2 separate regions of the Homo sapiens genome follow, and region 1 is linked to region 2. The links are contacts of gene promoters, found by promoter capture Hi-C in blood cells and fetal thymus (Javierre and others, 2016). All regions are on one chromosome and are shown on one strand. The core of a region is centred on a gene start or on the middle of the fragment in contact, and the rest is flanking DNA. Distances in the headings are between cores, read along the strand shown.

Region 1 (6,798 bases), core at 2,869-5,368, 200 kb before region 2:
TGGGACTACAGGCGCCCGCCACCACGCCCAGCTGATTTTTTGTATTTTTAGCACCGTGTTAGCCAGGATGGTCTTGATCTCCTGACCTCGTGATCCACCTGCCTCGGCCTCCCAAAGCACTGGGATTACAGGCGTGAGCCACTGCGCCCGGCTCCAGGGTTTAATTCAGTGGTGCAATTGTAGCTCACTGCAGCCTCGAACTCCTGGGCACAAGCAGTCCTGGCACCTCAGTCTTCTGAATAGCTGGTACTACAGGCGTGTGCCACCATGCCTGGCTATAAATGCTGTTTTCAGTCATAGGCTTTGAACTATTTAAAAAAAAATGCCCACAATCCTTTGTTACATGTTATTTGTTAGTGAATATATATAGTGGTGTGTATAGTTTTTCTCAAAGCAGTTTTCATCCTGCTTTCCTGTGCTGCTAACGTGTTGACTTGTATGGATATTTTGAGGTGGGGGGAAATGAGAGGTGCAGTTTTAGAATTTCTGAGTCTGAGAATTTTAATTCGTCATTACTTTATGTGGAATCTTTTTTTTTTTTTTCTTTTTTGACACAGGGTCTTGCTCTGTCGCCAGGCTGGAGGCAGTGGCACAATCTCGGCTCTCTGCAACCTCCGCCTCCCGGGTTCAAGCGATTATTCTGCCTCAGCCTCTTGAGTAGCTGGGACTACTGGCATGTGCTACCACGCTGAGCTAATTTTTGTATTTTTAGTAGAGATGGGGTTTCACCATGTTGGCCAGAATGGTCTCAATCTCTTGACCTTGTGATCCGCCTGCCTCAGCCTCCCAAAGTAGTGGGATTACAGGCGTGAGCCATCGCTCCTGCCCAATTTTTTATTTCTACCATATTCTCAAGATACATTGGTACAGTTCTTAGGCTTTCAATGGATGATTGGGAGGAGGGGGAAACTAGATGTTTATGTTGTTTTTGGATGAATTATACACAATATATCTGGGTCATACGTATTTGCCTTTAACTCCCTATCTTTTATTTTGGAAGAATTAGTGGTGAATTCTTTATATTGAAAGTGAGTTTTTCAATTTTAAAGTTGGAAAATCATCTGGCAACATCATGACTATACTAAAAACCAATGAATTGTATACTCTAAAATTGCTGCAATATTATGTTTTATGTTATGTGAATTTAATCTCAAAACATACAGGAAAATATCAGCTGGCAGTTTAATGGCCCTTTCCGGTTTGTGTTGCAATTCTTAGTTGTGATGGATGTGTGTTCGCTTTACAGGGTTGTTAATCACCGTGTGGATTTTTAGAGTTTTTGAGTGTTTTTGAGGAATGGCTCAGGAAATCTGATGTGTTACTTGGATTCCTAACATCTTTTTTTTTTTTTCTCTTCAAGTCTTGTTAATGGATCATTTTGTACTTTTAAAATCCCTTTCTCCTCTCTCTCTCCAGTCTTATTGCCAGCAGTTTTGAAGATGACTCCCGTGTAGCCTCACCGTTAGACCAGAACGGAAGCTTCAATGTTGTTATTAAAGAGGAACCTCTAGATGATTATGACTACGAACTTGGTGAGTGCCCAGAAGGGGTCACTGTGAAACAGGAAGAGACAGATGAAGAGACGGATGTATACTCAAACAGTGATGATGATCCTATACTAGAGAAACAGCTAAAGAGGCACAATAAAGTTGACAACCCAGAAGCTGACCATCTATCTTCTAAATGGCTTCCAAGCAGCCCATCAGGTGTTGCTAAAGCTAAAATGTTCAAATTAGACACTGGAAAGATGCCAGTAGTCTATCTGGAGCCCTGTGCTGTCACCAGAAGCACAGTTAAGATTTCTGAACTCCCCGATAACATGCTTTCCACATCTCGAAAGGATAAATCTTCTATGTTGGCAGAATTGGAATATTTGCCTACATACATTGAAAATTCCAATGAGACTGCCTTCTGCTTAGGCAAGGAATCAGAAAATGGTCTTAGAAAACATTCACCAGATCTCAGAGTGGTACAAAAATATCCCTTACTGAAAGAGCCTCAGTGGAAATATCCTGATATATCTGACAGCATTAGCACAGAAAGAATACTCGACGATTCAAAGGATTCAGTTGGAGACTCACTTTCAGGAAAAGAGGACTTGGGCAGAAAGAGAACAACTATGCTTAAGATTGCAACAGCCGCAAAGGTAGTGAATGCTAATCAGAATGCCTCTCCAAATGTCCCTGGAAAAAGAGGAAGGCCACGAAAATTGAAACTCTGTAAGGCAGGACGACCACCTAAGAACACAGGAAAGTCTTTAATTTCTACAAAGAATACACCTGTAAGCCCTGGGAGTACCTTTCCAGATGTGAAGCCTGATCTGGAAGATGTGGATGGTGTTCTCTTTGTTTCCTTTGAATCAAAGGTAAGATTGTAATTTTCAGGATTCTTTAAGGCTAATTAGTCATACTTGAATTGTATACTGGCTTGTAAGTAACTCGATTTACAATCTAGTTTTGTGATATCTATTTGTGAGGGTGTATGGGGGGTGGAGTTGGGAGGGAAGTGTCTCCAAAATGTTTGGTTTAGTTAATAGGAATAACTTAAGATACTTCATTTGAATAGACTTAAAAAAGTATGTCTTGCTTAGATTTCAGTTTACGATTTTTGCATAGCTGTGTTTAAAAAAAGTCTTCGGGTCTTACTGGAATTTTCATCATTATGGATTTTGGAAAGGACTAAAAATACATGAAATATTTACTAACTCTTTGGTGACGCTCCATTTCTTTTACCTCCTGGTTTTCTTTTATTTTTCTTTTCTTTTTTTTTTTTTTTTGAGACAGAGTCTTGCTCTGTTGCCCAGGCTGGAGTTCAGTGGCACGATCTCAGCTCACTGCAATCTCCGTCTCCCGAGTTCAAGCCATTCTCGTGCCCCAGCCTCACGAGTAGCTGGGATTACAGGCGTGTGCCACCACACCCAGCTAATTTTTGTAATTTTGGTAGAGACGGGGTTTTGCAATGTTGGCCAGCTAATTTCTAACTTCTGGCCTCCAGCAGTCTGCCTGCTTCAGCCTCCCAAAGTGCTGGGATTACATGCATGAGCCACCGCTCCTGGCCCTGGTTTTCAGTAGTAGTAGTAGAGTACCATTGGAGAACCAAATATTAACAGTCATCTTAACTCTCCTGTCTTACACATTGAAGTCTCTGTTTATTCCACTCTGACTCTTCAACCAGATTATTTTTCTTGGAAATTTTTATAGAAGCCCAGTCTTTTTTTATTTATTTTTTGAGATGGAGTCTCGGTCTGTGGCTCATGCTGGAGTGCAGTAGCGCAATCTTGGCTCACTGCAAACTCCGCCTCCTGTGTTCTTGCCATTCCCCTGCCTCAGACTCCCGAGTAGCTGGGACTACAGGTGCTCGCCACCATGCCCGGCTAATTTTTTTTGTATTTTTAGTAGAGACGGGGTTTCACCATATTAGCCAGGATGGTCTCGATCTCCTGGCCTCGTGATCCTCCTGCCTCAGCCTCCCAAAGTGCTGGAATTACAAGCGTGAGCCACTGCCCCTGGCCTCTTTTTTTTTTTTTTTTTGAGACGGAATCTTGCTCTGTCACCAGCTGGAGTGCAGTGGCACAATCTTGGCTCACTGCAACCTCTGTTTCCCGGGTTCAAGCAGTTCCCCTGCCTCAGCCTCCCGAGTAGCTGGGACTACAGGTGTGCATCACCATGCCCAGCTATTTTTTTTATTTTAGTAGAGACAGGGTTTCACCATGTGGCCAGGATGGTCTCAATCTCCTGACCTTGTGATCCACCTGCCTCGGCCTCCCAAAGTGCTGGGATTATAGGCGTGAGCCACTGTGCCAGGCTGTCTTTCTTAATTGACTACACAGATGTTGGATATTTAATCCCTTCTACCTGTTCTTTTCCTCCCTTCTTGTTAGCTGAGTAAGCTATCTGAATATAGGCTCTGAGAAGTGAACATGCAAATTGGCGTATACTTTGAGGTCAGTTAGCTCAGTATGACATCGTATTCACATTTTTTTACTTCCCCCTTTTCCCCTTCTGATTATTAAAGTAATATTAATGTAGAACACTTAGAAAATATCAAAAAGTATGAAAAAATTGCTCCTGTTCTGCCAATGTTAGCGTAACTGTAGGCATGGAGATATTTTCCTTCTGGTCTTTAAGTTTTTTTTAATCCTGTTTTACATTTAAGTTTTCAGAAGCAATATGAACTACTATTTTTTTTTTTTTTTGATGTATAGGAAGCTCTAGACATTCATGCAGTTGATGGGACAACAGAAGAATCTTCTAGTCTCCAGGCATCAACCACAAATGACTCAGGTATTATAAAATAGTATAAAAAGAGTTGTATTTGTGGTTTGGGCTCCAGCAATGAAACATGCAACATTCATTTGTCTGTAGTGTACAGTAGCTTATTTTATTACTATTTATTTTGGGTGTAGGTTACAGAGCAAGAATTTCCCAGTTGGAAAAGGAATTGATAGAAGATTTGAAGACTTTGCGGCACAAGCAGGTGATACATCCTGGTCTTCAAGAAGGTAATAGACTAGCGACTTCTTTTTTTTTGTTTTCTTTTTTTCTTTCTTCCCTACTGTTTCTCCTCTTTTTCCTCTCTCTTTCTCATCTCTTTTTTTCTGTTTTTTCCTCTTTCTTTCTAGCCTTGATTTCATTTCTTTCAGCACGTCTTTCAGTTTGCATATTTTTCTCTTCTCTGTCTCCATAATTCTTCCCTTTAGTTTAAAAACCATGTCTAATATCTTATGTAAGAAAAAAATGTATCATGGTAAAGCAAGTGATATTTTCTTTGTTCATTCTTATAACCTGGTATTCTCCCCTTCCCGTTTCTCATCTTAATTTGGTTGCTTTTGTTTATGTGTGTGTGTGTGTGTTTGTTTGAGACGGAGTTTCGCTCTGTCGCCCAGGCGGCTGGAGTGCAGTGGTGCAATCTCTGCTCACTGCAAGCTCCGCCTCCTGGGTTCATGCCATTCTCCTGCCTCAGCCTCCCAAGTAGCTGGGACCACAGGCGCCTGCCACCGCGCCTGGCTAATTTTTTTGTATTTTTAGTAGAGACGGTTTCACCGTGTTAGCCAGGATGGTCTTGATCTCCTGACCTTGTGATCCGCCCGCCTCGGCCTCCCAATTATGTGTTTGTTTTTATAATTTTGGAGGAAGGGTCTTCCTTGTCCTTTAGTAGTATATTTAGGTGTGTAAACAGTAGAATACTTTTCTGTCTCATGTTTTGGCTGCAAACATCTATTTTATATATTTGATGTACCACTGGGAAGTTAATTTAAAATTTTCATTATCTTTTTTTTTTAAAATTTTACTTTGAGTTCTGGGATACGTGTACAGAATGTGCAGGTTACATAGTTATACATGTGCTATGGTGGTTTCCTGTACCTATCAACCTGTCATCGAGGTTTTTTTTTTTTTTTTTTTTTTTGATGCGCAGTCTCGCTCTCGCCCAGGCTGGAGTGCAGTGGCACGATCTCAGCTCACTGCAAGCTCTGCCTCCTGGGTTCACACCACTCTCCTGCCTCAGCCTCCCAAGTAGCTGGGACTACAGGCGCCTGCTACCATGCCCGGCTAATTTTTTTTGTATTTTTAGTAGAGACGGGGTTTCACTGTGTTAACCAGGATGGTCTCGATCTCCTGACCTCATGATCTGCCCGCCTCGGCCTCCCAAAGTGCTGAGATTACAGGCGTGAGCCACCGCGCCCGGCCCTGTCATCTAGGTTTTAAGCCCTGCATGCATTAGGTGTTTGTCCTAATGCTCTCCCTCCCCACCAACAGGCTCTGGTGTGTGATGTTCCCCTCCTTGCATCCATGTGTTCTCATTGTTCATCTCCCACTTACGAGTGAAAACATGCAGTGTTTGGTTTTCTGTTCCTATGTTAGTTTGCTTAGAATAATGGCTTCCAGCTTCATCCATGTCCCTGCAAAGGGCATGAACTCATTCTTTTTTATGGCTGCAGTTTTCATTTTTATCTTTATTTTATTGTAATGCATTATCTTGACCTTGATTATGTTGCTTAATCTTTAAAAAAACATATCTACTATGGTTATTAACATCATGATCACTACCAATTTTCCTGTTTTGGGGTGTAATGAAAAATTTTAGGCTGTGCCCCAATTTTTAGTTTCTTACGACTATCTTTGATTTTAGATAGGCATCTTGGAGTAGTTTTTTGAATTTTTGACTCATTAATTTTCAGAAGGGTGTCTAGACTATTTACACTATAAGTAGTTCATTTACCTGAGAGTCTAAACATTATAAGTTATCAAACAAAAGATTTATATGCTGGTCATTCCGTTTCTAAATCAAATGGTAATACTTGAAGAATTTTTGCTTTAATGGAAGGCAGCTTGTGTGACAGTGCGATCTTAAAAGTGTGCAGATCCCAGTCTCAGTCAATCAATGTGGGCTGATTGCTGTGGATTGTAATAGACAGTCACATCATAGCAATCTTGCAGATAACGTTTGCTGCTGTTTATTGTCAGCTTTAGCTTCTGCTATTTTATTTAAATAATATTATCTTATTTCTCCCTATCTTTTTTTCTCCCCTTTTCCTTTCTTCATTTCTCCCTATCTTTAACTTAACCTGTCTTCTCCCTTTTCCACTTCCATTTTTTTTGTTATTTTCTTGATAATGTAGAAATATTATGACATTTATATTGTGTTCTTTTAACTTAATCTCCCACATTTTAAAAATCTTAGTTCTAGAGTTAAATATATTCAGTGCTTGCAGCTGGTCCTTTTGCTCTGGTTTATTTGCCTAGTATTTGCTGGTTGGCTAAGCTTTGACTGTTTTTCTTTCTTTTATAGACATCTTAG
Region 2 (7,037 bases), core at 3,574-6,073:
GACACACAAGACCCCTGCTCTCCTGGGGCTCAGGCCCTGAGTTTCCAGGCCATCCTGGACTTCTGCCAGATCTCTGGCTTCTTTTCATGAGGGTTTCATTCTCCAGGTTGGCTTTCCTTACCTACTAGAATTGAGTTTTAGGTGGCATTTTGGAAATCATGAAACTATGAAAAAGTATAACTATAAGGACTCTTTCTTTTTTTTTTGAGACACGGTCTCACTCTGTGACCCAGGCTGGAGTGTAGTGGTGTGATCTCGGCTCATCACACCCTCAGCATCCTGGGCTCAGGTTAGCTTCCCACCTGAGCCCTCCCGAGAGCTGGGACTACAGGCATGTGCCACAAAGAGTTTATAGTCTTTCTGATCCAGTGTGGGGGAAAGAGGTGGAATGAAGGAAGCTGGGGACCATGAAAGAAATGCTGTATCTTTGGTGTGTAGGGTGCCAGGGACTTTGTAAACCTCCAGAGCTGGGACTCCCTCCACACATTTCATTTTTCCCAACAGTACATTGTGGTGTAATGGAAGTTACAGAGCCTCAGTGCCAAGTGGGGAGCACCACACAGGGGTGAAAGTGGGTGCTGGGCAGTGACCCTGAACCCCCCACTAGTGAATGACTTGCCCAGACCTGGTTTGAAGCCCATGGCCCTGGCCCTCACTTTAGCATATTACAATGTTACAATATCTCTGGTATCCTGGGTTCTTCACCCATGGTTGGAGAGTGAATATGGACTTTGCAGTTTCCAGGATCTCCTATGGGGATCATAAAAGTTGTGTGGAACTTATGAATCCCCAGGGGTCTGAGGTGAGGCCAGGGCTGGGCTGGGTCACCAGGTGCTGGGTACTGGGGACTGAGCCATACCTTGTCCAAGGAGATGTGGGAGATCTGGAAACGCAGAATGATGACCCAGATGAGTCCCAGGATGAGTGTCTGGTCTCCGTCCACGATGTTCTCTGGCCCGATGAGTGGTACTGGCACCTGTGGGCACAGTTGGATGGGCTAAGCCATGAAGCCCATGTCCAGAGAGGACTCAGTCACCAAAAGCTTAGGGGGCCAGCTGCGGGATGGGAGCATCCTGGAATCTATCCTGCCCCAGCTGGGAGTTCCCTCAGGGAGAAGCAGGCAGGGGATAAGTCCAGGAAAGCAAAGGCTTCCTGCCTGGTTGGAGCCATGGCCTCAAGCCCACCTGGGTGAAGCCCCAACCTGGTGAACTGGGCTGGGCCCTCAGAGCAGGAGGACTCCCTGTGTGTGGGCTACAGGTAGACCTGGGCCAAGATCAGTGGTTCAGCTGCAGGGTTTGGAAATGAGGGGTCATAACAGTCAATGTGTGAGCCCAACAGACAATAGCAACTGTCTGCCTCCATCTCCCAGGGTGTCCTGGGATCTTCAGGGGGTGGCTGGGTCCCTGGGCTCACACCCAAATCTCAGCCCTCTTCTTCTGTTCCGGCTCCAACAGGGCCAGCTATAAATCCAGACTCCCAGGCTCCACCCAGTCAGACTGTCTTGGGCCAGAGCCTGGGAATTTGCACTTGAACAACACCTTGGGTGGCTCTTAGGTACACCAAAGTTGAGACTCCTCTGCCCTACATCCTGCCATTTGGACAGGGAGGATGGGTGAGTCAAGGGGAGAAGCCCTGCAGGATCTGGCCCCCAGCCCCCTGTGGCTCCATCTTCCACCCTGTGGAATCACATAGCTCCAAGGCCCATGGGATTCTTATAGTTCCATGGGATTCTAAGCACAGGACTTCAGGCCTTTGCAGGGCCGTGCCTGCTGTCTGAAAGTATTCTCCCAGGTATCTGCATGGCTATTCACCTCCCTGCCTTTAACTCTTCACTCAGATGTTGCCTAGCCTGACCACTTTATTTAACACAGAAACTTAAGGACTATTTCTCCCACCCAAATACACACTCTCGATCCCCTTGCCCTGCTCAAGTGAGGATCTTGGCTTTGTTTTCTGGTGTATCCTAGGGGAGTGGCACACAGCAGGCAATCGATCAGTAAGTACTGAATGGAGAAAGAAAAGGAGTGAGACTTTCCATAAGACCTGAAGGGCAACTGGCTTCAGCCGGCCACTACTAGCCCTGTGGGAGGAGCTGCAATCCTGGGTGTCCCCCTAGGTAAACTTTGGTATATCTGGCTGGCCTCTAAAGGATCCCACCCATGCTCCTGGGGTGGATTCCACCTGCCATGTCAATCACCTTGGCTTAGAGTTGGAGCCTCTGGTGAGTGGGGTGTTTGTCTGCTCCTCCCAGCTCCTGAGAGCCTATCCTCCTGACTTCCTATTGAGCGATGTCACGCTGGTGGCTTAAACTCACCGTGATGGGGGGTATTAACGCCATAGGATCAGCGAATACAGCACACTGGAGTTTTTATTTCCCCCAGAGAATCATTTGTTAAACGTTTACCAGCACACCGCTGATCTGGGTTCAATGAATCTGTCTCCCTTTGAAGCCAGGTGCCTTGAGGTGGGGGTCTGGGCTTTGCTTAGTGGAGCCCAGCGCCTGCATAGAATGCCCAGGGCATGGGAGCATCTCCATAAGCGAATGCATCCCTCATTCTGCCACACATTCCCTGTGTGTTTGCGGCAACTCCGTCATCCTTTCTAGACCACAGTTGCCTCCTATGTGTATGGAGACAAGGATGTCACCCTCACAGGTATCAGTGACATGCTGTATATTAAAGCTTGGGGAGAGCTGCAACACCTCTGACAAAGGCTGTGGGGCTTACACCCTTCCCCAGTTCCTGGAGGGGAGATGACTGGCTCACAGGGTCATTGTCCCTGGATCAACTAGGGCCCAGCATTCTGCAGCTGGCAGCGTTCTGCTCTTGCACCTGCTCAGGACAGCAGTCACTCCCATTCCCTTTGCTTGGGCTTCTCCCCTCCCTGGCTTTCCTCCAACACACCCCAGGAGGCTGGATGTAAGCTCCACTCCAGGATATAGTGATAGGCACGCACAGTCAGGCTCCATCCAGCCAGGCCCAGCTCAGTGACTTCACAGCCTCCAGGGACAGCCACCTCCAGGAGCCCTTGGCCTTCACAGTTCCCGGTTTCCAATGATCCCTTTGCCCCACCCCACCCCTGCACCAGCCCCTCACCCTGGCCATGAGGGTCCCTCTGTCCCTGGAGCTCCGGCCTCCTTTTAGTGCCCATCTCCTTAGCCTGTCCCTTTCTTTCAGGTGACTCTGCCTCCCCCCATTTGCTGAGGCCTCCTCCCTCCTTCTCCAAGACAGGCCCTGCTCCTCTTCCCCACCTGCCGTCTTAGTCCCACATCTGGGCTCTGTTGGCTGGTTAACCATCGATCTTGCCTGGTAAATAATTCAGGGCCTCTGTTTCCTCATCTGTGAAATGAAAAGCCTAAGAGAACGCTAAGATTCTTTTGGCCTAGAATCCTGTGAGTCTCTCTTATGACAGACAGTGACATTTTCCACCCCAGTAGGGACCTGGATTGCTACTGCCATGGCCAGCTGGGTGCTCTCCAAGTCAGGGGTGCTGTGCGAGGAGGGCGTGGCTTCTGCTCCTCTGTGTCCCAGCCACTCCTCCTGTACTCAGGCCCCAGCTCCTCTGTTCTGCCCAGTGGCCTGGCGCAGGAAAGGTGACCCAGTAGTTCAGCCTGTCCCAGCTGCCTGCCCCAGCACCATCCCAGACCCCTTTCCCTGGGGCCCACCTTGGCCCTGAGGAAGGCCAGAGCTCGGCTGCTGTTCTCCAGGAAGTGCACACGCAGGCGGCCCCGGCTCGGGGGTGGCAGGGCCTCCCCTGAGATGAGCTCCAGCAGCCGCAGGAGGTGGATGCCGTCAGCCAGCTCTGTGTACAGGTTCCGGATCTTGATGCCCGCCTGGGGAGGGGACAGGGGTAAGTATGGGGTCAGCCCAGCCTCACCTGTCCTCCCATCCTGGGACCTGAGAGGTACGACCCAGAGCAGCTGCTTTGGAAGAAGGAGCTCTGGCCTCAGCTTGGCCTCAGGCAGATGACCCCACAGCTCACCCCGGAGGCCCACTGGCCAGAGCTGGGGGCCTGGTATGGGTGGGCTGTGGGTCACAGCTGGCTATACTCACCTGGCCGCACTGGAAGACGTTATTGATCCACTTGGTGAAAGTCTTCTCCTGCATCTGCATGTGCCGGGCCTGTAGCTTGCGAATGTGGCCCGTCTCGTACTGAGAGTCCATGGTGAGACTTGGACTGGGCGGGACCCGGAGTTCTGTGCTGGGCCTCCTGCTGCGGTGCCCTGCAGCCCCGAGGAGCTCCCGGGGACTGTGGGGCTGACCAGCCATCAGCCCTGCAGACTTTGGGGATGAGGAGCTGCTGGATGGCTCCCTAAACCTGGAGGGCATGCAGATTAGGGGATGATGTGAATGGAGATGGCCCCTCTACCAGGGGCCTGGGGTCCCGCCTTGCCAGACTGTCCTCACATTTCATGGGGGTTGCAGCTTGGAGCCCAGCCAGGTAAGGGCCAGTGCTTCTGGTCCCCTGTGCTTGAATGGCCCAGGGCCCCCTTTGCCCCACCCCACCTTCCAGATTCTTCTTCTCAGAGCCCCTGCTGCCAGGTCCCTCCACCACAGTGACTGGGACAGGTGGAAGGAAGACAGGAAACTGCTTACCTTGGTGATGCCTGGGTCCCACAGAGACGGCTCTGCTGGACGGATGGAGATGGTAGATAGCAGGGGCTGCTTACCTTGGTGATGCCTGGGTTCCACAGAGGCGGCCCAGCTGGACGGATGGAGATGGCAGATAGCAGGGGCTGTGGAGGGAGGGAGAGGGACATCAGGAGAGGCCAAGGCTGGAGCAGGGCTGCACCACAGCCCTCCCCTTGAGCCAGCGTGCTGGGGTGACGGCACACAGGCGGCATTGTCCTCCCACCTGCCACAGGGCGTGGCCCAGACAGGGAGGGGGTGGTTCAGGAATGCTCCAGGGCCATTGCCAGATGATGTCCTCCTTCATCATCCTCCCTTCCCCGCCAGCAACTTCTCCAACTCCAGGTGGGGGTCCTGGCTCCCAGGACGCAGAGGCCCATGGAGCGGCCCTGCCACCGCATGGGGTGCTGCAGTCTGCGTAGGAGGTACCAAAGGGCAGAGCCTCTGTGGGAAGCCTGTGGACGCACTTCCCAATCTGAGACTGCCCTCTGTACCCTCTTGGGGCCTCTCTGTGAGCACCCAGGGCGAGGGGATGAGGGAGCGTCCTGGGCCGTGGTCTTCTCATTCACCCCCAGGGAACAGCCCATAGACTGAGGGCCTCACAGACCCTGGGCTTGGCTTTCCAGGCCCTGCCAGAGTGCAGCCTGCCTAGCCCGGGGCTGAAGGGTAGGCTCCCTGGAGGAAGGGGTGACCTGGAACTGCGAGGGCTGTGGAGTCTCCTCCAAAATTAGAGACACGGTGTTAACTCTGGGCTCCACAGAGCTGGCCGTGGCCCGGGGCTCGGAGGCAGGGGTGCAGAGGGAGCTGGTGGGCGCCCATCCCTTCCTCCCCGAGCAGCCGTGGACTACATGCCAGAGTGAAGGCGAGTTCTAATTCTGGGGGTCTCACCCGCCTCTGGCTAAACTCAGGGTAGCAGTGTGGGCTGGGGTGTGTGTGTGTGGGTGTCTTCCAGCGGCCCTGGAGCCTCTGAAGCGACAGCCCGCTCCTCAGGGAGGCGCTCCTGGCAGCCACAGCCCACAGCAGGACAGCCGCTCAGCGCGCCCTTGAGAGCTGGGCTAGGGATGAGTCACACTTGAACCGCCTGGGCCCACTGCAGGCAGTCAGGGGTGACGCTGAGAGGTGCCGTGGTCTCGGGTGGGGTGCGGCTTCCTGCGTCTGAGAGACGCTTCCTCTCCTGCTGTCCTCTCCCTGCCAGGCCCCTTCTGCAGCGGCTGGCTTCCAGACACCCTGCGTCCCTCCCTTGCTCGCAGCAGTTGCTGTGGCGGTCCTCCCGTGCACCCCCCCTTCTGCCCTCACTGCCCCTGGGGGTCCTCATCACGGACCCCCTAACTCGGCATCCTGGACACCACCACCCCGCACCTTTCCACAGTGCAGCTCTGCTCGTGCCTGTGAAGCCTCCCACAGCCTGGGAAGGAAAATCCAGACTTGCCAGACCTTGCCTCAGCCAGGCCTTGGAAGCCTGCCAGCTTACCTAACCAGGCTAGTCTGCCCCCCTCACTCTGGGTGCTCTCCATGGGCCACTCACCATTTCCTGAGCAGGACCAGAGCTCTCCTGCCCCAAGGCTGGGCTTCAGCTGCTCTTTCAGCTTTGAACGTCCTTTCCCATTCTCCATCATCCACATTCACCTATCCTGCCTGCCCCAGTTAAAATCCTGTTTCTTCTAGGAAGTCCCTCATCCCACCCGCTTACCCCAGGGAGACTGAGCTTGTTCCTTCTCCTAGTAAGACCCTCAGCCCATGGAGTCCTGTGTGATGTTGTGAGCGTGGGAGGACAGACTGAACTGCTCGGCCCGTGGAGTCCTGTGTGATGTTGTGAGCGGGGAGGACAGACTGAACTGCGTGGTGCTTCGCACATAGACCTCAACAGGGATTGGCATTTTGAAGCTGTTGGCGGGGGCTGTGGACTGCTTTTCTTCCTTTCTAGCTCAACGGCAGCTAAAGCCACTGCATACAATGCAAGGACTGGCTCCTGTTTGGCCACGACTGATTGCAGCCCCTGGTGAAATGAGAACCCTGTGGGTCGGAACAAAGTTTGGATTATTTATGTTGCAAGTAACTAAAATCTCAAGTGAAACTGGTTTAAACATTATATTTTTATTATTTATTTATTTATATTTAATTCTTTTTTAGAGACAGGGTCTTCTTAGGTTGCCCAGGCTGGTCTTGAACTCCTGGCCTCAACGATCTTCCCACTTCAGCCTCCTGCATTGCTGGGATTATAGGTGTGAGCCACCATGCCTGGCTTACACAGTATAAAGGGAATGCATTGGCCCACACAGTGGAAAAAAATATCTAGTAGGAATAGGAAGGACTTCAGGTGAGGTTTGATCCAGCAGCTCAAATGTTGTCACCACAGGCCTGGATTCCTCTGGCCTTTCTCAAGGTCTCTTTCATTTTCATGCTCCACAA

What was found. Contacts are between HindIII fragments. The CHiCAGO score rates a contact against its expected background, and 5 or more counts as called.
Region 1: a contact is called between a fragment that was not itself captured here and the fragment with the promoter of SPTBN5 in region 2, in 6 of 17 cell types (total B cells, naive CD8 T cells, naive B cells and 3 more). The highest score is 7.4, in total B cells.

Annotation. Positions count from the first base shown.
Region 1 is chr15:41,694,659-41,701,456 of GRCh38, forward strand. MGA (MAX dimerization protein MGA) reads left to right here. Exons shown (of 24, transcript NM_001400225.1): 3 at 1,417-2,365; 4 at 4,205-4,283; 5 at 4,406-4,501. Among named protein-coding and RNA genes, the nearest start is that of MIR626, 6.5 kb to the left of the region's middle. The HindIII fragment of the contact is 5,283 bases long and covers 1,478-6,760 here.
Region 2 is chr15:41,889,230-41,896,266 of GRCh38, forward strand. It overlaps SPTBN5 (spectrin beta, non-erythrocytic 5), which reads right to left and starts at 4,824. Exons shown (of 68, transcript NM_016642.4): 1 at 4,670-4,824; 2 at 4,053-4,317; 3 at 3,665-3,832; 4 at 860-976. The coding sequence starts at 4,268. LOC105370792 (a long non-coding RNA gene) reads left to right here and starts at 3,548. Exons shown (of 4, transcript NR_135681.1): 1 at 3,548-3,849; 2 at 5,998-6,107; 3 at 6,351-7,037. EHD4 (EH domain containing 4) reads right to left here. Exons shown (of 6, transcript NM_139265.4): 6 at 6,704-7,037. RefSeq lists enhancers at 1,540-2,415, 3,609-3,668. The HindIII fragment of the contact is 13,270 bases long and covers 2,680-7,037 here.